Regions from separate parts of the Homo sapiens genome. Here regions 1, 2, 3, 4, 5 and 7 are each linked to region 6. Evidence: promoter capture Hi-C in 16 types of primary human blood cells and fetal thymus (Javierre and others, 2016). All regions are on one chromosome and are shown on one strand. The core of a region is centred on a gene start or on the middle of the fragment in contact, and the rest is flanking DNA. Distances in the headings are between cores, read along the strand shown. Region 1 overlaps BCL11B (BCL11 transcription factor B). Region 2 overlaps SETD3 (SET domain containing 3, actin N3(tau)-histidine methyltransferase). Region 3 overlaps SETD3 (SET domain containing 3, actin N3(tau)-histidine methyltransferase). Region 4 overlaps CYP46A1 (cytochrome P450 family 46 subfamily A member 1). Region 5 overlaps SETD3 (SET domain containing 3, actin N3(tau)-histidine methyltransferase). Region 6 holds the start of VRK1 (VRK serine/threonine kinase 1). Region 7 overlaps LOC105370660 (a long non-coding RNA gene).

Evidence for each region. Contacts are between HindIII fragments. The CHiCAGO score rates a contact against its expected background, and 5 or more counts as called.
Region 1: a contact is called between a fragment that was not itself captured here and the fragment with the promoter of VRK1 in region 6, in 1 of 17 cell types (endothelial precursors). The highest score is 5.2, in endothelial precursors.
Region 2: a fragment that was not itself captured here is called in contact with the fragment with the promoter of VRK1 in region 6 in 5 of 17 cell types (total CD4 T cells, total CD8 T cells, naive CD4 T cells and 2 more); the score reaches 8.1 in total CD4 T cells.
Region 3: a fragment that was not itself captured here is called in contact with the fragment with the promoter of VRK1 in region 6 in 7 of 17 cell types (non-activated CD4 T cells, fetal thymus, total CD4 T cells and 4 more); the score reaches 9.1 in non-activated CD4 T cells.
Region 4: a fragment that was not itself captured here is called in contact with the fragment with the promoter of VRK1 in region 6 in 1 of 17 cell types (activated CD4 T cells); the score reaches 5.7 in activated CD4 T cells.
Region 5: a contact is called between a fragment that was not itself captured here and the fragment with the promoter of VRK1 in region 6, in 1 of 17 cell types (naive CD8 T cells). The highest score is 6.2, in naive CD8 T cells.
Region 7: a fragment that was not itself captured here is called in contact with the fragment with the promoter of VRK1 in region 6 in 7 of 17 cell types (endothelial precursors, naive CD8 T cells, fetal thymus and 4 more); the score reaches 11.6 in endothelial precursors.

What each region holds. Positions count from the first base shown.
Region 1 is chr14:99,250,079-99,253,284 of GRCh38, forward strand. All of the region lies in intron 2 of BCL11B (BCL11 transcription factor B), which reads right to left. Among named protein-coding and RNA genes, the nearest start is that of BCL11B, 21 kb to the right of the region's middle. The HindIII fragment of the contact is 5,573 bases long and covers 1-3,206 here.
Region 2 is chr14:99,427,495-99,430,320 of GRCh38, forward strand. The region is part of intron 6 of SETD3 (SET domain containing 3, actin N3(tau)-histidine methyltransferase); the gene reads right to left. Among named protein-coding and RNA genes, the nearest start is that of SETD3, 52 kb to the right of the region's middle. The HindIII fragment of the contact is 2,703 bases long and covers 166-2,826 here.
Region 3 is chr14:99,407,547-99,410,731 of GRCh38, forward strand. All of the region lies in intron 8 of SETD3 (SET domain containing 3, actin N3(tau)-histidine methyltransferase), which reads right to left. Among named protein-coding and RNA genes, the nearest start is that of SETD3, 72 kb to the right of the region's middle. RefSeq lists an enhancer at 874-1,440. The HindIII fragment of the contact is 4,765 bases long and covers 1-3,185 here.
Region 4 is chr14:99,687,916-99,691,120 of GRCh38, forward strand. CYP46A1 (cytochrome P450 family 46 subfamily A member 1) reads left to right here. Exons shown (of 15, transcript NM_006668.2): 2 at 3,166-3,205. Among named protein-coding and RNA genes, the nearest start is that of CYP46A1, 5.2 kb to the left of the region's middle. The HindIII fragment of the contact is 1,618 bases long and covers 733-2,350 here.
Region 5 is chr14:99,465,588-99,468,702 of GRCh38, forward strand. SETD3 (SET domain containing 3, actin N3(tau)-histidine methyltransferase) reads right to left here. Exons shown (of 13, transcript NM_032233.3): 2 at 116-226. The coding sequence starts at 218. Among named protein-coding and RNA genes, the nearest start is that of SETD3, 14 kb to the right of the region's middle. The HindIII fragment of the contact is 3,398 bases long and covers 4-3,115 here.
Region 6 is chr14:96,796,097-96,799,090 of GRCh38, forward strand. VRK1 (VRK serine/threonine kinase 1) reads left to right here and starts at 1,286. Exons shown (of 13, transcript NM_003384.3): 1 at 1,286-1,351. RefSeq lists silencers at 1,168-1,367, 1,378-1,667 and an enhancer at 1,612-2,143. The HindIII fragment of the contact is 2,825 bases long and covers 293-2,994 here.
Region 7 is chr14:99,279,273-99,282,104 of GRCh38, forward strand. It overlaps LOC105370660 (a long non-coding RNA gene), which reads right to left. Exons shown (of 3, transcript XR_001750881.2): 3 at 739-2,465. Among named protein-coding and RNA genes, the nearest start is that of BCL11B, 8.5 kb to the left of the region's middle. The HindIII fragment of the contact is 8,266 bases long and covers 1-2,832 here.

The DNA.
Region 1 (3,206 bases), core at 101-2,600, 2.5 Mb after region 6:
AGGCTGGAGTACAGTGGCATGATCTCGGCTCACTGCAAGCTCCACCTCCTGGGTTCACACCATTCTCCTGCCTCAGCCTCCTGAGTAGCTGGGACTACAGGCACCCGCCACCATGCCCAGCTAATTTTTTGTATTTTTAGTCGAGACGGAGTTTCACCGTGTTAGCCAGGATGGTCTCGATCACCTGACCTCATGATCCCCCCGCCTCGGCCTCCCAAAGTCCTGAGATTACAGGCGTGAGCCCCCGTGCCCAGCAGGAGAATCTCTTGAACCTAGGAGGCAGAGGTTTTGGTGAGCTGAGATCGCGCCCTTGCACTCCAGCCTGGGCGACAGCGAGACTCTGTCTCAAAAATAAATAAATAAATTTTACATGAAATTAGGAAAAACTCCATCTCTTTGTTTCCTCAGTGAAAAGATGACCCCAAAGGCACAGGGTGACAGCCAGTCAGCCTTATTTCTATAGATTATCAGCAGAGCCCACTCCTAACAGATTCTAGACCTGGTGGTTAATTCATTAGCCAAGCATGCAAATGAGCAACAACCACTCAAAAAAGCTGTCAAATGCCTGATTAAAAAAACTTTAGTCAATACTAACTATTTACTGTCAAATAGACAAACTAAGAATAATAATATTAACTCAGGCTGAATGTTGGTTAAGTTCACCCCTTGGGAGCCCAGCTGCCTTTCTCTCTTTTTCTTACCTTATCTCTCTCTCCTGTTTCCTGAATTACTGCTGGAAGTATGGAACTACGTACATAAAACAATAAATAAGGCCTCAAACCTTAAGAGAAAAAAAAAACACCCATTTATGTGACCAGTATTGTCTGTCTTTTTTTTAATCCAATAAAACTTTCAACTACAATCGGTGCTGATGTCACCATGTTAGCGGCACACACTCTTGACTCTGGTTTGCACAGTTCACATGGCAGGTGGGTCCACCGCCTCCCTGGAAGGCCAGTGGGACAGGAAGGGCTCACCCCCTTTCTCAGCTGAGGAAACTGGGACTCCACCAGGGGAGATGGCCTCAAGCTACAGGGGTGGGCACCCTGGGATGGCAAAAAGTCACCTGTCCTGACTCGAGATAATTGGGGTCTGGACTCAGCTCTGCCAGTAACTAGTTATGTAAGTTCAGACAAGTCACTGAGCAGGTGAGAAGGGAAGAGTTGGCAGCAAGGTCCTTCCAGGAGGCTAGGAAGCCAGACCCTTCCTCTGGATCCCACCGGCAGGATCTCCATTATCAACAACAGCTAAAACCCACAGGAACCTGTTCTATGTATACCTTGTCTGAATCAAACCTTATAACAAGCCCAAAACACAAGGAACATTATCTCCAGTTATAGGTACCGAGACCTGGGGAGGCAAACAGTTGGCTGACAGTCACATAGCAAGACCCTGGCAAAACCACAATTCCACAAAATAAAACAAATAATTTGTATTTATGGGGGAAAAGTCTATGCAACAGTGAATATAAAATAAAAGAAATAATCATATGTATGGGAAAAAATCTAAAATTCTGGCCCAGGTGCACCTGAATTTACAGTGTACTTCATTCTTTGTCACCACCCATCTCTCCAATGCCCTCATTAGGAAGTACAGGACAGTATATACAAAAGCCACAGACTGAAGGCCATGGTCCCTGGGGGTCTGAGGACTTCTGGCTGTATCCACAGGGTCATATCTGGGATGGGCTTCAAAGACCATTTTGGATGGGGTCAGAGGTGGTGCCCGCCATCAAGGCCCCACCAGCCAGACAGACAGAGTTAGAATACCCATCCCCAAAATCCTCCACACCCCTTGCTATCCAAGGAAACTAGGCCTGACTGAGTCTGACTCTGCTTTGCTGTGTGACCTTCAGCAACTCCCTTAACCTCTCTGAGCCCCAGTTCAAAGTAGGGTTAGAAATATATATTTCAAGGTTGAAGAATTAAGTGAGATAACCCAAGAAAAGCATCTAGCACAATGAGGAATACCAGGTAGCGCCCCTCTTCCCCACCACCCACCAGCCCAGCCCAAACTCTGCCCTGTTCAGCCATCCCAACACCCAAACCCCAGCCTGAGCCCAGGGCCATGTCCCTCAGACAGAACACTGCACTATTCCTCGGTGCAGACAGAACTAATAATTAGCTGTCATGATTTAATAATAAAAAAAGATAATCCATGCCACAACACACATGGATTTAACGCATCTTAATTTGAAGGGAAAATAACAACTCTAAATAGATCAAGTGCAAGTTTTTTAAGGCAACCTGCGAGTGGGGTTTATCTCCAGTTTCCAGCACAAGCAAGTTATTTAGTTTCTCTCACTAGCCAAGCTAATATTTTTTTTCACGTTTATTTTATTTATTTTTAAAAGTCTGGAGAGAACATTCCCAAAGCAGCACGTAAATCCCTGGGCTCGTCAGAAGTCCTTTTCTCTCACACATTTTGCTTAGCAATGGGTCACTGGGGCCCCAAACCAAACCCTTATCTGTGCCCCACCTGCTAAGAGAATCTCCCAGGTAGATCCCGCGTCCTCCCTAGGTTGTGGATGAAGACATATCAAGTGGGCAGGGACATCGCAGCCAGGGCTGCCTGCCACCTCCAAGCCCAGAGGGATCTGCCACCTCCTGTCACCTGCTGCCTGTCTCCGCACTTCTCCAGAAAACTGACATTCAGGACTTGGAGGGTTACGGAGGCAGGCCTATGAGTGACAGCTGATAGTTAATTCCTCCCTCTGTAGCTTCATTTGGTTATGGAAGGGCTGAAAACAGGCAAAACCAAATTCCTGGTGATCAAGCGCCTCCCCTTCAGTGACTATCAAGTGAGAATTATATGGAGGAACCTGTAGGAAATCACCGTGAGAGAGATCCCAGGTAAGTGATCATGGTTTTGACCAAGAAAAACACGTACTCGGCATGCTGCCAAGCAGGGTCCACACTTTCCTGTGTTTGGCTTTCTAGAAGCATCCACTTCTTGATCATCTGCCTCAGGCCCAACCGGTGCCAGGTGGGTGCTTCCTCATTTCATCCTCAGCATAACCCAAAAAGGAGGTGCAGACGAGGAAACGGAGGCCAAGAAAAGTGAAGTGACTCACACAGGTGGCCAGCAGTGAGTGATGGGGCTGGGATTCCACCCGGGAGATGCCAAAGCCTGTGCTCCCTCACCTGAAACCCCCCGCCGGCTCCTCAGAGTGCACCGCCAGCAAAGAGATCCTCAAGGGACAGTCA
Region 2 (2,826 bases), core at 267-2,766, 2.6 Mb after region 6:
GATTTTGCTTAATCTCAAAAGTTATCAAAGTAAAATAGCTATTATTTTATAGAAAACGATAAAGGAGGCCAAGGCATAAAGTGGTATAATTTTATCCTTGATGTACTAATGCACATTTCTGCAGCTTCAGAGCCACTTTAATCTCATCTTAAAGCTTCCCAGCAAAGCTTCGTCCGTCAACTCCCCAAACCTGCACTGTGTGTCTGCTGCGTGCAAGGCATTGTGGGGGGACAATGAGCAAGATGAGTTCCCTGCTTTTAAGGAGCCAACGACTTTGGAGCAGGGAGCCCAGACAGGCAAACTGTGACGTGTCACACCAGGATACATGACACGTGCTGGAATTCAGAAAAGAAGCTGCAGTCACTGTCGGGAAGAGGGGGATCTGGCAATGACTCACAGAGGAGGTGGCATGCGAGTTAAGTCTCTAAAGATGGGCAGGATTTTCCATGTGGGAAGGGAGACATCCCAGACAGAGAGTACCGGAAATGGCAGAGGCAGGGAAAGGAGGGCTTGTTAAGGGAAGCTGAGCAGCTGGGGTTTGCAGAATCGATTGGCACACAGAGGGATGAAAAGGTGCAATGCCAGTGCAGTCCCAACACATGAGGCCCTGCAGAGGGTGGCACAGTGCCCACGGCAGGAGCATTAGAGTATTAGCTATGTGGCCCCAAGCAGTGCTACCCATCTGGTCTGTTACTTCACATGTAAAATGAAGACAATCCCTGCTACCAGAGTTTGCTGGCACTTGAGAGGTGTCAGTAAGTTAGTATCCATCCAGGAACAAGGACTTTGTAGACACTGAGCACCCCCTGGTCTTCAGCATTTAGGAAAAGTAATCTGCCAAAGGATGAATCAAAACAAGTGGTGGAGGGGTTGGGTGCAGTGGCTCACACCTGTAATCCTAGCATTTTGGGAGGCCCAGGAGGGCAGATCACTTGAGGTGAGGAATTCGAGATCAGCCTGGGCAGCAGGGCAAAACTCCATCACTACCAAAAAATACAAACATTAGCTAGGTGTGGTGGCACACACCTGTAGTCCCACCAACTCGGAAAGCTGAGGTGGGAGGATTGTTTGAGCCAAGGAGGTGGAGTTTGCAGTAAGCCGAGATCATGCCACTGCACTCAGCCTGGGTGACAGAGTAAGTCCCCGTCTCAAGAAAAAAGAAAGAAAAACAAAACAAGTGATGGAGGAAGTGAGAAAATGTGGGGAGGGGGTAGGTGAAGTTTGAGAATCTGATAAAATCTATGGGCCTGATGTGGCAAGGAACTGAGGGTGGCCTCTAGCAACTGCCAGCAAGAAACCCAGGCACTGATGAACTGAAGCCTGCTGCCAATCACAGGAGTGGGCATGGAAGGCACCCTTCCCCAGTCACACCTTCAGATGAGACCACACCCTAACTGCAGCTTTGAGAGAGACCCTGCAGCAGACAGCCCAACTAAGCCATGCCTGCCTTTCTGACCCACACAAACTGTGAGATAATAAATGTGTGTTTTAAGCCTCTAAGCAGCAAAGAAAAAAAAATTTTAATTATGAACTTCTGGGTGTACTTCTCAAAAAAATTCACACAAACATATGACTATTAGTCAAGATGGGCTGGAATCTGCCATAATACGGTGTCTCCAGGAGTCATTTCTCACTCACTGCATGCTCCCTGGGTGCTGCCTGTGCCTCTGCTCCATGGGATCTCCACTCCATGATCCAGGAACCCAGTAAATGTTAGTGCCCTTCTGCACTGAACTGTTCTGTTCACAGGAACCAAACATATTTGCAGGAAAAAAAGAAGAGGATTTAAAAGGATGAAGAAAAAAGAAAGACACAAGGGAGGGCAAGTAAGTGACAGAACACAGACACAGGAGGCATCACACCACCAAGGGCACAGGCTGGACAAGAAAAGAAAAGTGAAGAAAAGGAGCACTGGTGAGACGCAGGGGAAACTCTGAGATGGAATGGAAAGAAGCCAAGAAATCTAAACATAAACAGAGCACCCCGATTCTCTTAAACGGGATGTAAGAGACTTTGCTTAGGGTGCGAGGCATTTGGTCTGTTTCATGATTGTCATTAATATGGTTATACCATTTCTTGTCTCTTTTGTTTCCATATATGTTCAGCATTCACTCAGTCATCTGATAACTAACATCCTATTTCAGTCCTAAATTTATGGGTTTTGGATATATCCAAGTTCTTTGAAACATGTGCTCTGTACTCCAGACAGACACTGGCTAGTTAAAACGTGAGGAAGAGGTGCCTCAACACCAGGAGTCTTGAACAGAAGCAAATCCAATATAGAAACCCATCTGAATCTTTTTAAGTCCCAAAGTTACTTATGAAAATCAAGTAATTTTAAGGCCTCCATAAGGCCTACCTTATATGCTTAAGGATTTATTTTGGTCTCCTCAATTCCACACACCTGTTTTCATTCTTTGAAACAGATGAAAACTGTGAAGTATAGAGGAAATGGTAAGATATTCTGGAGTGGGTCCAAAGACAAGCAGTCACTACCCCCAGCCATTAAACGAGAGGGGAGGGGGAGTGAGCCCAGCCTTGATGGCTCAAGATGGGCCTGATGGGCCCAGAGAGGGAAGCCCAGGAAACAGCGTTTTCAGTAAGTTTCCCAGGTGACTTATGCTCACTCGAGTTGAATCCAGGAACCAAGTTTAGCACTGGCTCCCACTGAGGAGGAGAAGAGTAAAGAAAGATCTCTGCTCTCTGAATAAAGCCCTCCCTGCCCTGGGTGCACAGATATGCACACACACATGCACAATGGGAGTGAAGTCTGGGAGAAGCTGAATTTCACACTGAGGTTTCTGGCCCATCCAGATCTGCCCACTT
Region 3 (3,185 bases), core at 242-2,741, 2.6 Mb after region 6:
TGATTCCGCTCTGCCTTCGGAATAAACCCCAAGTTCCTGAGCACGGCCGAATAAGGAGGCGGCTCACGCTTCCCTCCAGCTTCAGGAACTGCCACCCACCTGCCATCCCAGTTCCCTCCTGCCTGACACTACCTTCTACTCCTGTTGTGGCCTGGCTTCTCAGGGAAGCCCCTCCTTACCCTGCCCTCCTGTGCACTCCCACAGCCCAGTCCTTATGCGCTCCAGCCCAAGTCACGTTATCTGTGCACCTGCCTCCCCGTCGGTCACACTTGGAAGCTGGAGCCCCTTGTTGATCTCTGTGTCCCGAGTGCTCAGCACACAGAACCTAAAACCTGAAGTGGTCTTTGAGAATATTCACGTGATGCATGAACCCGCAGGGGAAAGGAAAGGGTCCCCAGCTTCTATTAAAACCTCCTTCTCAGAGTCCTGTCTTTTAGAGCAGCGCCCAATCTCTTAGGTTGTCTGTCGATGGTCACTGATTACTTTTTGACCTACTCATTTTATCCTGGAGAATCAAAGATTCACAGCAGCTACAAGTGCTCCTTGCTAATAAGGTATCAATAGCTTGGATTCAAAAGATGACTTCTGAGTCTAGGGAATGGCATTTTGGGATGGAAGGCCATGTAACACTAATCTTTAAACTCAATATCCCAAGAATAAATATGGTTTATTAACCATATGTCTAAATTTCCTTCATGCTTCTGATCTGCAAAGACCAGTGATAAATATGCAGCAATGAGAAATAAATGAAGCCAAGTATTCTAGAACATTTCACTCGCAGAACATTTTAAACACTTCAATTGAATGAAAATCAACTCCATGAAGTTCCTGCCCAACATCGGATGTACTTTTCTGACCCCAAAACATCACCTTGACAACAAAGTGGAATGAGAAGCTGCCCATATCATGAACTCCCAGGAGGGAGTCCAGGCACTCCCAGGGTGCTGGCAGTACAGGTACACAGGGACCTGCCAGCAGCACAAACAGGAGGGAGGTTAGAGGAAGGAAGAGAAAATTTAGGGAGATTGTGGAGAAAGGATTATGGGTGTTTAAGGGTATTTTACAGATATTTCCCACTCTCAGCAAACGTCAAGCTCAAGAAATAGTTTAACATGTCCACAGCAACCCGGACAGGCAAACAGGCTGGGATCCTGCCCCGGTCTGCAGCCCTTTCTCAGCAAGGGTCAGAATGTTTGGAGGCTGAGTGTCTAACTTCTTTGTGTGGCACTGCCAAACACTTCCTCTAGGACGGTATCAAGTGTGTCTCAGTGCAAAGAAGTGCAGGCGGAAGCACAGGCCTCGCCCCTCCCTTGCCTGAAGCCAGGTTTCTAGAGGACTCTCTCAGAGCAGAGCCCTCCCAGGGTGGGCCTGCAGAGGGGCCTTCCAAGGCTGTAAGGACCCCACTGCTCAGCAAGGGCCTTCTGGCAGGAGCCCCAGGAAATTACCACCTACGCCCAGAAATCTGCAGACGCTGACCAGGTCTGACTTGAAGCCCAGACTAGGAGAGGAGGGGTTGGGAAGGCCAGGGCTGGTCCAGGGGCAGCCACCCGATGTCAAGCAAGGACAGGGTCCTTCCACCTCCTCCTCGCCCAGCTCCACGTGCCGCTTCCTGCCTCCCACACTGCCAGCTAACTTCCCTTCTACAATACTGAGTGCCATACTATGCCAGGCCCTAAGCGAGGCACTTGGAAAATGGCATGAAAAGTCTCAGTCCCTACCCATAGGGACATCTAGTGGAAAAGACACAGGGAGAAAAAAATTTATATATATACGTATATATAAAAGCAAGTGGAACTGAGAATAGCCCCACAGGAGTCTCAAGTGTGCCCAGGGGAGGGGAGCGGGTGGCAGCCGGAGTTTGTTGGCAATGCTGGAGGAGGAACCCAGCAGGGAGTGGAAGCCTCCAGCAGCTCCATGGAGCCCTGCTCCCTGAAAGCCACCACCTGCCTGCAGCGCACACCACTCACATCTGTGGCTGGCTTGGTAACTCAATGGCACACTTGGTGCACAGCTGTATTCTAGTTTCGTTTACATATTAAAAGTAACATAGGAGGAAGAGCACGATATACATACACACACATCCCTAAGATGGAAACAGAGTGAGGACCATTTACATTTTCTTCTCTGTGTTTTTCAAATTTTCTTCCACAAATATGTATTATATTGATTTCATGGGGGGGGGGAGGATAAAGTAATACAGGCTCATCAAATAAAATTTGGAAAATATTTTTTAAAAAACAAAGAAAAAAGATCACAATCACGTTAACATTTTGGTTTATTTCTTTCTGATCTTTTTTCCTAGGCATGGGGCTTTTACAGTCATTTATTTACCGGTCATGAATTCATTAAAAACCACAGCGATATAGCAATGAGCAAAACAGACCCTCCCCCAAAATCACCCTGCGTTCATGGATCTTCCATTCTAATGGGAGGCGGGGGGGTGAACCAACAATAATTTTTTAAAAAGGCAGAAACAAGCGGATCTGGACAATAGAGGGAAATGTAACAGGACAGGGCAGGAGGGCGGATGAGCTGGAGGCGTAGTCATTCCACATAGGGTGCTCAGGGCAGCCACGCTGGAGGAGGTCTATGAGTGAGTCCCGTAAGTGCCTAAGGAATGGAGGGTCTTAGGCAGAGGCGACAGCAAGAGCGAAGGAATCTTCTGGTGTCTGAAGAATAGCAGGGAACCAGAGGTGAGTCAGACCTGTGTGCACGGAGGGTGTGGGGGGACAGGTTGTTCGGAGAGACTTGTCTGCTATTGTAAAAATGGGCTTTTGAGACTGTAAGACTCATCTAAATATAAATGTTTTAGATTTTTTTTTCAATACACAAACAGAAGGACCCTGAAAAAGAACTTCCCTCCGTTGTGCCTGAATTTCCAGCTGCCCTTTCATCCCACCTGGTAGAGTCGCAGATTCAAATGCAAGCACTGATTATTCCAACATACTCTCTGTATGGGAACTAATACCACTGTCTAACAGTCACTTAGAAGTATCCTTGTCATATCAACCGAAAAATCCTCAACAAAGGAAACCTGCTGCTTACATTAAGTTTGAACAAATCATGCAAGATATAAAGATGTGTTGTTTCTTCCAGCTTAGTACCACACCTTATAACCCTTCCTACATTTATTTCTCTGAGTGGCTAGGAAATTAGTTTATATTCACCAGAATCTCTAGCCTAGG
Region 4 (3,205 bases), core at 292-2,791, 2.9 Mb after region 6:
TAACACCTGGGTCTTCCTGTTCTGTTGTCGCCTCCCCAGCGCCCCCTGCAGGTGCCAGAAGGAATGGGTTTTTTTTCCCCTTTCTTGGTGGGCCATGAGGACCCCACCCCTCTCTGTGCCCTCTGTCTTCCTGAGATGGCACTCACCTTCCTTCCCATGTGGCAGGGAACCCCAGGGGTTAGGGTGGAAGCTCTGGGCTCAGACTCTGTCCTCACTTAAGTGACTCAAAACTGAGAACATTCCCCCAGAATGTGAGCTTTGGGAAGCGACAATGAGGACACTAGATTACTCTGGAAATACATCCAGGCATGTGTGATGATCACAGCCCATCTTCCTGCAAGTTCAAGGCCACTCACCTGGCGTGGGCCTCCACTGCGGGCAGGCGGCCACCCCGTACTTCCTTCCCCAGGGCGTTTATTCGCCTACTCTCCCTTCCTGCTTCAGTCCCCATCACCTCCCCCTCCATCCGCACTCTCAGCTTTTATTCTTGCCTCCTACTTCCCTGAGCAAAGGGAGCAGCCGGTGAGAGTTTCCTTCCTGGGCTCCACTGAGCAGCTGCCCACCTCCTGCCCCAGGCCCACGCACACCTTCCAGCTGTTCCGGGAGGGTAGCCCAGGCCAACCTGCCCCCTCTGCTCAGCAACCCTGTCCTAGGAGCACCCCCACCTCCAAATCAGCACTTTTCCTCCTCTTCTGCATCATCCCCATTTTTATATAATATGTAAGAATTCAAAGCTTGGAACAAAACCTTTCCCTTCACCCTCTCGTTCCCTGTAGCTGCCGCCCCCTATGGTAACCCACCTGGCTGACTGCCTGCCTTTGGGCCTCCCTTTTCTCCCCTCTGGTTCTCTCTGCCCCATACCTCTCCACCAAACTTGCTGGGGGCTCGGTTCCCGGTGATCTCCATGTTGTCGCACCCAGCCGTCAGCCCTGGATCCTCGTCTGACCTGGCCCCCAGCAGCCTGGGCAGAGCCGATGCCCCCTCCGCCTTGTCCCGCATCCTCCTCTGGCTTCTCACCCAACTCTCCTGGCTCTCTTCCCTCCTCCCCAGTGCTCCCGCTCAGTCCACTTGGCTGGCTGTCCCTATGCTCCCAACTTCTCAGTGATGGCTTAGTTCTTGGTCCTCTTCTCTGTCTGTATCCATTCCCTTGTGGCCTCATCCAATCACTGGGCTGGAAATACCACTTCTCTGCTGTGGGCTCTCAAATTTATGTCTCTAGCCTACAGCCCTTCCCTGGGCTCCAGATCTGAGTGTCTAACTTCCTGCTCAATAGTCCACCACAAACCTTACCGGTCCCAAGCCAAGCTCCTAATTTCATCTGCTTGTCTGAGATTGGTCCCCCCAAAGCTGATCCTGAGATAAGAAATGAAGTGTAAGTAGTTTAGGAGGTGGGGGATGATCCCAGTTTGAGCAGTGGGAGGAGGAGAGTGGATAAAGAAGGTAAACAAACCAATAAAACAAGTTACCTCTTGGGGAAACAGGTGCAATTCCCTGGGAACCCTGGGGACTTGTGTAGAGCACATGCCCAGAGCTACCCCAGAAGTGGAGGGGCTGAGGTCATTGGTGGAGGGCTGCTCAAAGTGGGTTCATCTCCTGTGGGCAGAGCCAGAGACGGCCCTGGCAAATTGCAGGGGGTGGGCACGGTGGCTCTGCCACCCCAACCAGCTCCTCCTCATCTTGGTAGATGGTCGCTCCATCCATTCTTCCAGCAGCCCAGGCCAAAAACACAGAGTCATCCTCACACCCCCATAGCCAAACGGCACGTTCCAGTATTCCGCCTCACAGAGCATTCAGAATCTGACCTCTTCTTATCATTGCCTCCGCTGCCCTGCTCTGTTCTGAGCCCTCGTCACCTCTCCCAGTCCTTCCCTGTCACTAGTGTCCCTGCTTCCTCCCCTACCCTGGTTACTCTCTGCACTGCTGCAAAACAATCCATTCAAACCCAAGTCAGATCCCATCTCTGCTCTGCTCAAAACCCTCTAGTGGACCCCAGCTCACCAAAGTCAAAGCAAAAATCTGGACCACAGCCCACAAGGCTCTACATGACCTGCCCCCAGTCTTGGTGACCCACCTTGTACTCTGTTTCCCTCAAGTACTCTGCCCGAGCCACACTGGCTTCCTCACTGTCCAAGCACACTCTGACCTCAGGACCTTGGCACCTGCTGTTCCCATTGCTTGGAAGGCTCTTCCCCCGCTTCTTGCAGGTCTCATCTCACAAGCCACCCTCTTAGAGGGACACTGCGTGCCCTGCCTGCATTAACCCATTTATGCCTGAGGTTGCAATTTTTTGAATTTGAAAAATCAGACCTTGGTGTTGACCTTGAGCAGTAGGACATAAATAACTTCCACAAGCTTAGCGTTCCAATAATGGAACACTAGGCATAAATGGGTTTTAAACGGACACCCACACACTCATCCCCAGCCCTTCCTCTTCCCCGTACTCTGTTCTCTTTTTCTCCTATCACCCTCTGACATTGTCTTTACTTGTTTATTTACTCTCCGCCTTTCCCTGGGAGAACGTGATTTTGTTGTCACCCATTGGGGATGCTGCATTGAGCTTGGTAGGAATAAAGTCATACAGGAGACAGGAAGTCATGGGCCCCTTGGAATGAGCTTCAGGATGACACTGCACTGGCTTCTTTACAATTTGGTGAACACAGCAGATTTATATGACCAAACCATCCCTTGCTGAGATGGGCTTTGGGGAGCCCTGGTACCAGCTGTGCAATTGTGGGCAAATGACTTCACCCTTTCATCTCGGCTGTCCTATATAATACGGTTAATAACAGACTGATCAGCCATGTGGGGAGGTTGGAGGGGTGAAGCCTAGCGTGGTGGTGCCCAGCCTGGTCAGTATTGGGGAATATCTGAGGGTGATCCCACACAATATTATTGAGTCCTTTCTATCTGCCAGCCCCCAACTTCTGTGCCAGGGAGACAGGAAAAAAAACTGTTTCTTCTCCAAGGGGGTCTTTGGAGCTGGTCAGACCTGGGTTTGCATCCTGTCTTCATTCTTACTGCCTGGTGTCCCTGAGCCAGTGCTGTAACCTCCCCATGCCTCGGTCCTCCTGTCTGTGAAGTGGGCCTAGTAATAAGATCTTGTGGGGAAGGGAGCGTTCTTTCCTGTTGACTGCTGGTAAGCCTAATGTTTCCTGTTTCTTCTAGTTTCCTTCTAGGACACCTCCCCTGCTTTTGGAAAAAGGAT
Region 5 (3,115 bases), core at 453-2,952, 2.7 Mb after region 6:
ATAAGCTTGGACCTGAATACCAGCTTGTCTGATGCACGCGTCCCCATTCTGGTGACAAAGAAGAAAAAGGCACAGCCACCACATCAAGGCAGGGAGAGCCCAGAGGAGGACTTACTCTGCAGCAGCTCACTGGTCAGGTTCAAGATTTCCTTTGGTGACACAGTTGCTGTAGCACCAGTGCCAGATTTCTGAGTTTTTACTCGACTCTTCTTACCCATTTTTCTGACTACAGAGAAGAGAAAGAAAAGAGAAAAAAATTACATTACCAAAGAACAAAATCAAGTAATAAAACATGTCCAACACATGGCAGTGTCTTAGTCTTCAGAGGCTAAGATCTTACCTTACATGAAGTTTTCTTCCAGAAAAAGAAATGTGTAGTATTAGTATCTAGAGGTTCTCAAATGGGAAAAAAAAAAATCTGCTTTGTAGTCTCTGGAAGAAAAGTTCGTTCTTTTTCACCTACAAAAACTATAGTAGAGCAAATTTTACTCTAGATTTTTTTTTAATTACATAGATTTCACTGTGCAGACTAACATATTCCAGGATACTAGAGAGATAAAACCCATGCATACATCATACACATATGGGCATAAAGACCTATATATTCTCTCCCCACTTTGCCTTAAAATAATCATTTCCCATTAACCATAACTGTATCATAAGCAACTGATCACACTCTCTGGACAAATGCTGAAGACGTTTTAGAGCTGGAAAAAACTCTGGCGAGCTAGTCTAACTCCTGCATTTTGCTCCATGGGAAATCCCAAGCACCTTGCCTGGGATTTCACAGGAAGCTGATGGCAGACCCGGGACTTGAACGAGGTCTCCCGTCGCGTTCCAGTGTGCCACACACGGGTCCTCTGCGGGCATGTGAGAAATGATGAGCATATTTTCACACGCAGATGAGACCATGTGGTATAGGACACGCCATGGTGTCCTGGGTAAAGACCCTATGAGATAATGCTTGCTTGCAAGTGCTTTTAACAATAGGTCTCAAAGAAAGTAAGGGACATGGATGTGTGAAGAATGGCGGGGGGGGGGGGGGGCATTCAAAGACAGGGACAGGACTAGAAGCGTGAGGGAAGCACAGTGAGGAAGGGAACCCGGCTGGAGAGGGGGTCTCTAGGGAAGCCTAGCGAGGCAGCCACTCAAGACAGGGTGATAGTCACTGCCAGAGGAGTCTGGCTTTGATTCTCCAGAGACAAGGGGCTAAGATCATGACCAAGGAAGATGGAAAAAGTGTCCAGCCAAGAAGCTGGTAGGGCGATCCATAAGCTAATGAATAACAAACCACCACGAGGATGGCCTCCAGGAGCCCCAGTCAGTTACACTTTATCTCAAGTGAGAATCAAAAAGCAGACTTTGGTCCATTTGTTTTTTACAAAAAGTGGTAACTATCACCATGTGAAGAACTATGCTAGGACAAAGGTTTAAAACATATTCTCCCACTATACAGATGATCATTGACTCTGCTGTAACTGAGTCCATGCAAATATGGCCATGTGCTAAAACAGTAGGACATCACATTATTTAACAGGCTAACGTGTGTATCTTCTCTTATGTATCTAACGTATAAAGAATAATGTGTAACACATTAATATAATAAGTCTTCTAAAAATCAGTGTAAAATACACAGTGTCAGTCATCCTGGAATAAAAGGAAACTGGTAAAAATACATAAAACTTTTGCAGCAATACAAGGAATTTTTTTTCTGTGATCAAAAGCAGAAAATTTAAGTGAGGGGAGGGCAGGATGACAGACAGCTTAAGCACCTTTTCCTATGCTTAAGAAATGTCTTCTTAGAAGAGAAAAAAATCTCCCCATGGTTCTGGCTCACAGCCAAGAGCAAGGGCACAGCCTGGACACAGCACCTCCACCCTTCTGGGCATTTCAGGCTTCCCATATCTGCGGAGGGCATCTCTGGAGGACCATCGAACTTGACCTGAAAATAACTAAAACCACCAAGGAGTCTGGTAATAAGGACGTTAATCACACTTCCAAATATAGTGGGTCTGCTGGCTTGGCAGGAGGAGACGCAGAAGCATCCTGTCAGCAATGGCTTAGCTGGCCTCTCCCTTCAGCCTTGCCTGAAAGACCTTCTGCTGTGGGAGCCTGTAAACGAGGCAAGAACGTCACTTTGATGAGGAGCTCCAAGACCCTTTCCCTTCTCTTAACAGTAAGTGAGCCTGGGACAGGGCTGTTCTGCACCGGCCCTCACAGGGTGCCCACCAACAGCTACAAAACAGGCTCTATTCGCTCTGCCTGCAGCCCCTCACCTCCTCCAAAGTCTTCTCTCAGCTATCCACCCAACTCCAGTTGCTCATTGATGTAACAGCAGCTGTTCCCTGGAGCTCAGTATTTACCCTCTGCCAGGTGCTGGACTAAGACAGAGCTCTTCATTTGATCTTCCTCGCACTTTAAGCAGTAGATACCATCCTCATCTTTCAGATGACATTGTCAGAAAGGTTAAGTCCCTTCTCTTTGTCCAAGGTCATGCATCAGGTAAGAGGTACAGCTAGAATCTGAACCCAGAACCACTACCACACTGCCTCTGTTTAAATACAGATTTAAAAAAAAAAAAAAAAAAGTACATGGCAGCAGGTCTTCCAGATCAAATACCATGGGATATGGCCCCACACCCCGCCACAACCCTGCCAGCAGCCACTCAGCCCACACCTAGGCAGCTCCAGCCACTTCCTCCTGCACCTCCTGAACGAGTCCTCATGGTTAGACCCTAACACTAGTCTCGTACATCTCCCTGCCCAAGCCTGTCCCTGCTGCTTAAATCTACCCTCACGCTGCCACCACCCTAAATAGTAGGAAATCACATTATTTAACAGGCTAACATTGCTATCTTCTCTTATGTATCTAATGTATAAAGAATAATGTGTAACATGTTAATCTAATAAGTCTCCTAAAAATCAGTGTAAAATATACAGGGTCAGTCACCCTGGAATAAAAGGAAACCAGCAAAAATATGTAAAACACCCTCCCAGCAACACCAAGGGCTCCCAGTCCCTCTACAGACGTCATCATGTACCTCCTATCTCTGCCTCCCCGTTCACCCCTTGACTGTAATATTTTAGTCACTTATTCACTAACTCTTGGTTCTCTC
Region 6 (2,994 bases), core at 36-2,535:
CAAGACCAGCCTGGGCAACATGGTCAAACCCTGTCTCTACAAAAAATACAAAAATTAGCCAGAAGTGGTGGCCTGTGCGTGTAATCCCAGCTACTCGGAGGGTTGAGGTGGGAGGATTGCTTGAGCCCAGGAGGTCGTGGCTGCAGTGAACCGAGATCGCGCCAATGCATTGCAGCCTGGGTGACAAAGTGAGACTATATCTTTAAAAAAAAGAAAAAGAAAAGTAAAATCGACAAATAAACCCCCAAAGCTATGTAAACTCATTGAGGGACCTGCGCAAGTGAGGTCCTGAAGCTTACGCTTCATTGGCTTCATTGTTAATCTCCCTCTGCCTGTGACTTCAGTGATTTTGACCTAGAACAATGACCCAGTGCCCAATAAGCTCTCAGCCTCATGGGTGATGGAGACTTAGCTGATTATAATAAACACAATGCGGCCGGGCGCGGTGGCTCACGCCTGTAATCCCAGCACTTGGCGAGGCCAAGGCGGGCGGATCACAAGGTCAGGAGATCGAGACCATCCTGGCTAACACGGTGAAACCCCGTCTCTACTAAAAACAGAAAAAAATTAGCTGGGCGTGATGGCGAGCGCCTGTAGTCCCAGCTACTCGGGAGGCTGAGGCAGGAGAATGGCGTGAACCCGGGAGACGGAGCTTGCAGTGAGCCGAGACTGTGCCACTGTACTCCAGCCTGGGCGACAGAGTGAGACTCCGTCTCAAAAAAATAAATAAATAAAAATAAATAATAAACACAATGCAAACTGTGGCATACGTTGATTACAGATGAAACACTATAGATGATTAGGTAGACATTGAGATATGCTTTGAAATAGGCTTCGAAAAACAGGTAGGATTTAGACACATATCAATGAGTGGGCAGAATAATACTAACACTATCTGCTATTTATTGAGCACCAACTAAGTTTAAAGTACTGCCTATAGATTATTTCATTTAATCCTAACAGAAACAGGAAACTTATTTTACACCCAACTCTCTGCCAATACACTTAATAAATCAAGCTACTACGAACAAGGCTGTAAACCACATTTCCTAGAAGACCAGGGAGCAGAAGGACGGGGATCTCCCTTTGCCGCTAAGAGACTCCAACTCCCAGGATGCCTTGGGAGCGCTGGACCACAGCTCCCGGCATTCCCGGGGAGGCGCGGGGCTAGCGTAGCCTCCGCCCCGCGCCTCGCGTTACCACTCGTCCCGCCCCTCCTCGTCGCCTCCGAGCCAATGGGAAGGCTCCATACTGCAGGGTGCGAAGGGGCCGGCGCCGCTGCCGAGTTACGAGTCGGCGAAAGCGGCGGGAAGTTCGTACTGGGCAGAACGCGACGGGTCTGCGGCTTAGGGTAGGGAGGCCGCAGGCGACACGGCTCGAGGACTCGCGCGCCGAGCCGGGGGCGCGGAGGCGGGCGGCCGGGGCTGGGGCCGGCACTGGGCCTTCCGGGCGGCCTGTGGGTCCACCGGGGTGCGGGAGTCGCCGTCAGCCTCGGTCGCCCCGCGGGACCGCGCTCCGCCGCGTGGCTTCCGCCTGCGCGGGCGTCCGCTCCTTCCTTGTCTCGTTCAGGCCCCGCAGGCGCCCCCGGGGATGCCTGGACTGGCCAGGCCGGCCCCCATCTGAGCTCCACGTTCTGGACGCGCGTGGTGTCGCGGCCGAGCTCGCAAACGCCGCCTCGGGCCTCACCGGGAAGCCGGTTCTGTCAGGCGGGGCTCCGGGTGAACAGCGCAGGCGAGGCCCCTGCCCCGCAGAGCTCACTCTGTAGAAGGGAAACAACACACGCAGCTGCGATGTTTTGCGGATACGGAAATGCTTTCTTAGAAACGGGACAGGCAGTTGCGGGCTAGAGGAATGGGGGCGAGGCTCTTTAGGTTAGGTGATCCGGGAGGGCATCTCAGAGGATGTGACCTTTGACTTGAGACCTGAGAGGGGAGGCCGACCCCTGAGGATAGCAGCCAGGCCTGGGGACCGCGAGGCCGCCCGTTATTTCCCTGTCACATCGCGGGGAGGCCCCGTGATCCTGTACTTGAGGGTCTGTCTGGTGCAAGGCAGTTAGAGCCGCTTGTGTGTTTTGCAAGGGACTTTCATAACCGTTTGACAGTTCCTCCTCATTCTGTCCTTACCTGGCAGGGTGGCATCCTTTACTGTTGCAGCTCCATTCAGGGGCAACGCATAGTTTTTCCTACCACCGAAATAGTATTGTGGTTCTCGTCTCAAAACTCTTAGGTGGTAGAATTAAATTCGACAGACAGCAGCAGAGTCAGACACTATAGGTTCCTGTTGAGGCCACCCATTTTTCTGATGTCCTTTCTTTCAAGTCACTCATTTTTGTTTTCCTTTGTATAGACTCTTCCCTTCCCTTTCCTGTGTCCCTTTCTTGGAACAACTTGGAAATACAATTTGCTATTGGGAGGATGTTGGTTTTAGGGAACTGTTGAAGAACTTCATTAATTATTGTGTGTGTGTTTTTCTTTTCTTCTTCTTTTTTTTTAAACTGGAATTGCCCATCTGTTGAGACTGAAATTCAAGAGTAAAAAAAAGTAGGGCAGCATTTATTTTCAAGAGTTGACAATAAAGGCACCTTTCTTTATGACATGCTGAGCATGATACTTTGGGGGAGAATTTAATCTAGAATTTTGAAGCATTTTCAGAAGGAAGCAAGGGTTCTTTATATAGTCATTTTATGTAGGTTACGTTTATGTTCTTCAAAATGGCATGTAGTGATTGGAATTAAATTTCTGGGTAGATAAGATTATGTTCATCTGTTACCTATAGAAGGGAATGTAACTTAAGTAGTCACTTAATAATAGCTTTCTCTGTTGATGCTACCACAGATGGTATTCTCTACATCTCAACATTGCTGATCAGATTCTGTGTTAATACAGTAACACAACTTGAATTTAATAACAATAAACTTGTGTTAGGCGTTACTGTCAATTTAGTTCTGGTATCCAGTACAAATACCAGTTTTATAGTGCAATGTCTTCTTGTTAT
Region 7 (2,832 bases), core at 153-2,652, 2.5 Mb after region 6:
TTCTGAGCCAACCGTTCCACCTGGACCTCAGTACAAATTATTGTTTTCAATTACCACCTGTGTATTCCTTCCCATGCAACTTATTGATGTAAAATTACAGCTACACCGGTATAAATAAGTTATGCTGCAGTTGTAAAATGGAAGAAATTTTGTTGTAGCAATTATGTTCAGCAAGATGACAAAATAAATTTCCAGAGCTGTGCCTGCAGTAACCTGGGGAATTTAAACCTCATAATTTCCATTCATTTCAGATAATTTGGAGTAATTTCTATATGTAATAACTTTGTAATGAAAAACACAGCGGTACTGAAGTGATTTCGCTCCGTTTTTTTCTCCTATGGTATACATGGCACAAAATAAATGATAAAAATAATATTTCCTTTTTATATGTGTGTGTGTTGAGTAATTCCTTCAGTAAAAATCATAAACTAATACCCAGACTAAATCTCTGTCCACAAAATGAAAAATAAATTGAGTTAAAGAAAGTGAAAAAGTATGAAGGGCTTTGGATGCTTTATTGTGACTTTATTGAATTGTTTTGTTCCCATGCTCCCTCTGATCCCTAAGGGTTACAGTTCCCAAGTAAGGGGCAAATGCAGGGGAGCCCCAGATGGCTCAGAGGAGGTAGCAGGGGGACCCCCAAAGGCCAGGAAACCCTCGCCAGATGGTGATTTCTCCCCAGAAGCATAAGAGACTCGTTCTCCTCTTGAGATGAGCATCTTTAACGGTTGATTTCACTGCGACTGGAAAGGACCTGGTAGGCTGGTCAGTGGTCCTGTCAGTTCTGACATATTTCCTCCTTTAATTAAAGACAAGGCAAGGTGGAGCACCAGTGCCCTGCCCGACCTATGACGGTGACACCTGCCACTGATGTATGCAGCCCCTGAATGCCACGATTTATTCATCGGAAGCTCCCACTGAGCTGTGAGAAGGTGACAGGAATTACAGCAGCTGCATTAGCTCCCAGATCCACGCGATTAGCCTCTGCCACTGCCACGGTGCACATCAAGGGTTTCCTCAAAGTGAAAAATCGAGGCGTCATTCCCTAAAACCTGCCTGCTAGTAGTCACAGCTAGTGACTGTCAGTAGCCTCCCCACCAGCCATGAGGGCTGCCTGCTGCCTTGAAGTAGAATGGCTCCCCTGCCCTGCAAACCCTGGCCTGCTACATGCTGCCAGGGTGCCCATCTGGAAGCTCAGGCTTTGGCTGAGTCGGCTGGGGAAAGGGCATTCATTTCTCAGGCTCTGTGGTCTCCCTGTCAGATGGGCTTCACCGCTCTGTATAAGCGGTGATGAGTGGGTCTTAGCAAAGCGCCTGGCCCGGTCTCTCGCCATGCAGCAGTCGCATCATAAGCATGGCTGTGATTTGTTCCTTCAACAACACACGCGGATGGGACGCCTGCTGTATGCCAAGCACACCATGGGGGACAGGGCCCAAAGATGGCAATATTGTGAGGTGGTGGTACTGAGGTTCCAAGTTCAGGCAAGCCTGAATCTGACACACCACCCCAGCTCCAAAGAACAGAGCAAGGGAAAACAAAAGTTGATGACATAGTTCAGCAATTATAGTAGTGAGAGTACAGCCCATCACATGGACTCATGGCCATGTGTCCCAAGTGCCATGGGAGCAAAGCAGCAGGGCTCAGGGGTCCTGAGCACAGATTGCAGAATTCTTCCAAGACCCTCAAGACCTACTCATTCAAAGAGACACTCTGTCTAATTACATTGTGAGGCATTTATCTTATCTAATCCTCAGAAGAGAAAGACTTTCATCCCCCTTAGACAGGAAACCCGAAGTCAGCCACCACGAGGTAGAGCCCAAATCACCCCAGGTCTGTCTCTGTGTATAACCACTATGCCGTCCTATACCCAGGTTGGATTTCCAGCCATCCTGCAAGCCAATAACAGGCAGCTGAAAACATCACCAGATGTGGAACCAGAACAGCAAAGACAAAGTCAGTGCTGGATCGAGACATGGAGGAAGGAAGAGAATTACAGAGAAACAAAGTTTGCATTAAGGACACAGTATACTCAGTTAGTAGAAGAGATTTTGTTTGTTTGTTTGTTTGTTTGAGACAGCAAAATCCAACAAGACACACCACGGTTATGAAACCAGATAATTGAGGCAGAGAGAAATGGGGTGGAGAGAGTGGGGTAAGACAGACGTTTCTGCTGGTAAAATTTGAAACAGACAAACAACTCATGTTGGGACAGAGTTTTAGTGTACAAAGCCCTTTTGCTTCCCTGACTTGAGTTTGTCCTCCCAGCAGCCTGTGAGAAAAGCAGGACAGGGCACACACAGCTTGATATACGCCTCCGAGATCGCCAGGGTCAAGTCTCCGCTGCGCCCGCTGCTAGCTGCAAAAGCCTTCATGCGGTTTCTCTTCTCGACATCCCAGGTCCTCCTCTATCAACGCCTCTGTGAGCATCTCATCAGATGACCTCTCAGAAAGCCCCCAGCACAGGCCTGGCACAGAGGAGGCATTGAATAAATGATAGATATTATTATGGAGGCGTTTTACTCATGAAACAAGAGATTCACATTCAACTCAGTCTAAGGTACACACGTCAATATTTCAGGAATGAAATGGGAAATTTCCCCCAGATTTCACTGGTACATAATCGACTAATATTGATGAAGCATCTTGTCTCAGCGCTGCTGTAACAAAATACCTGAGACCGCGTAATGTATACAGAATAGATATTGCCGGGCGCAGTGGCTCATGCCTGTAATCCCAGCACTTTGGGAGGCCAAGGCGGGCAGATCACCTGAGGTCAGGAGTTCAAGACCAGCCTGGCCAACATGGTGAAACCCCATCTCTACAAAAATACAA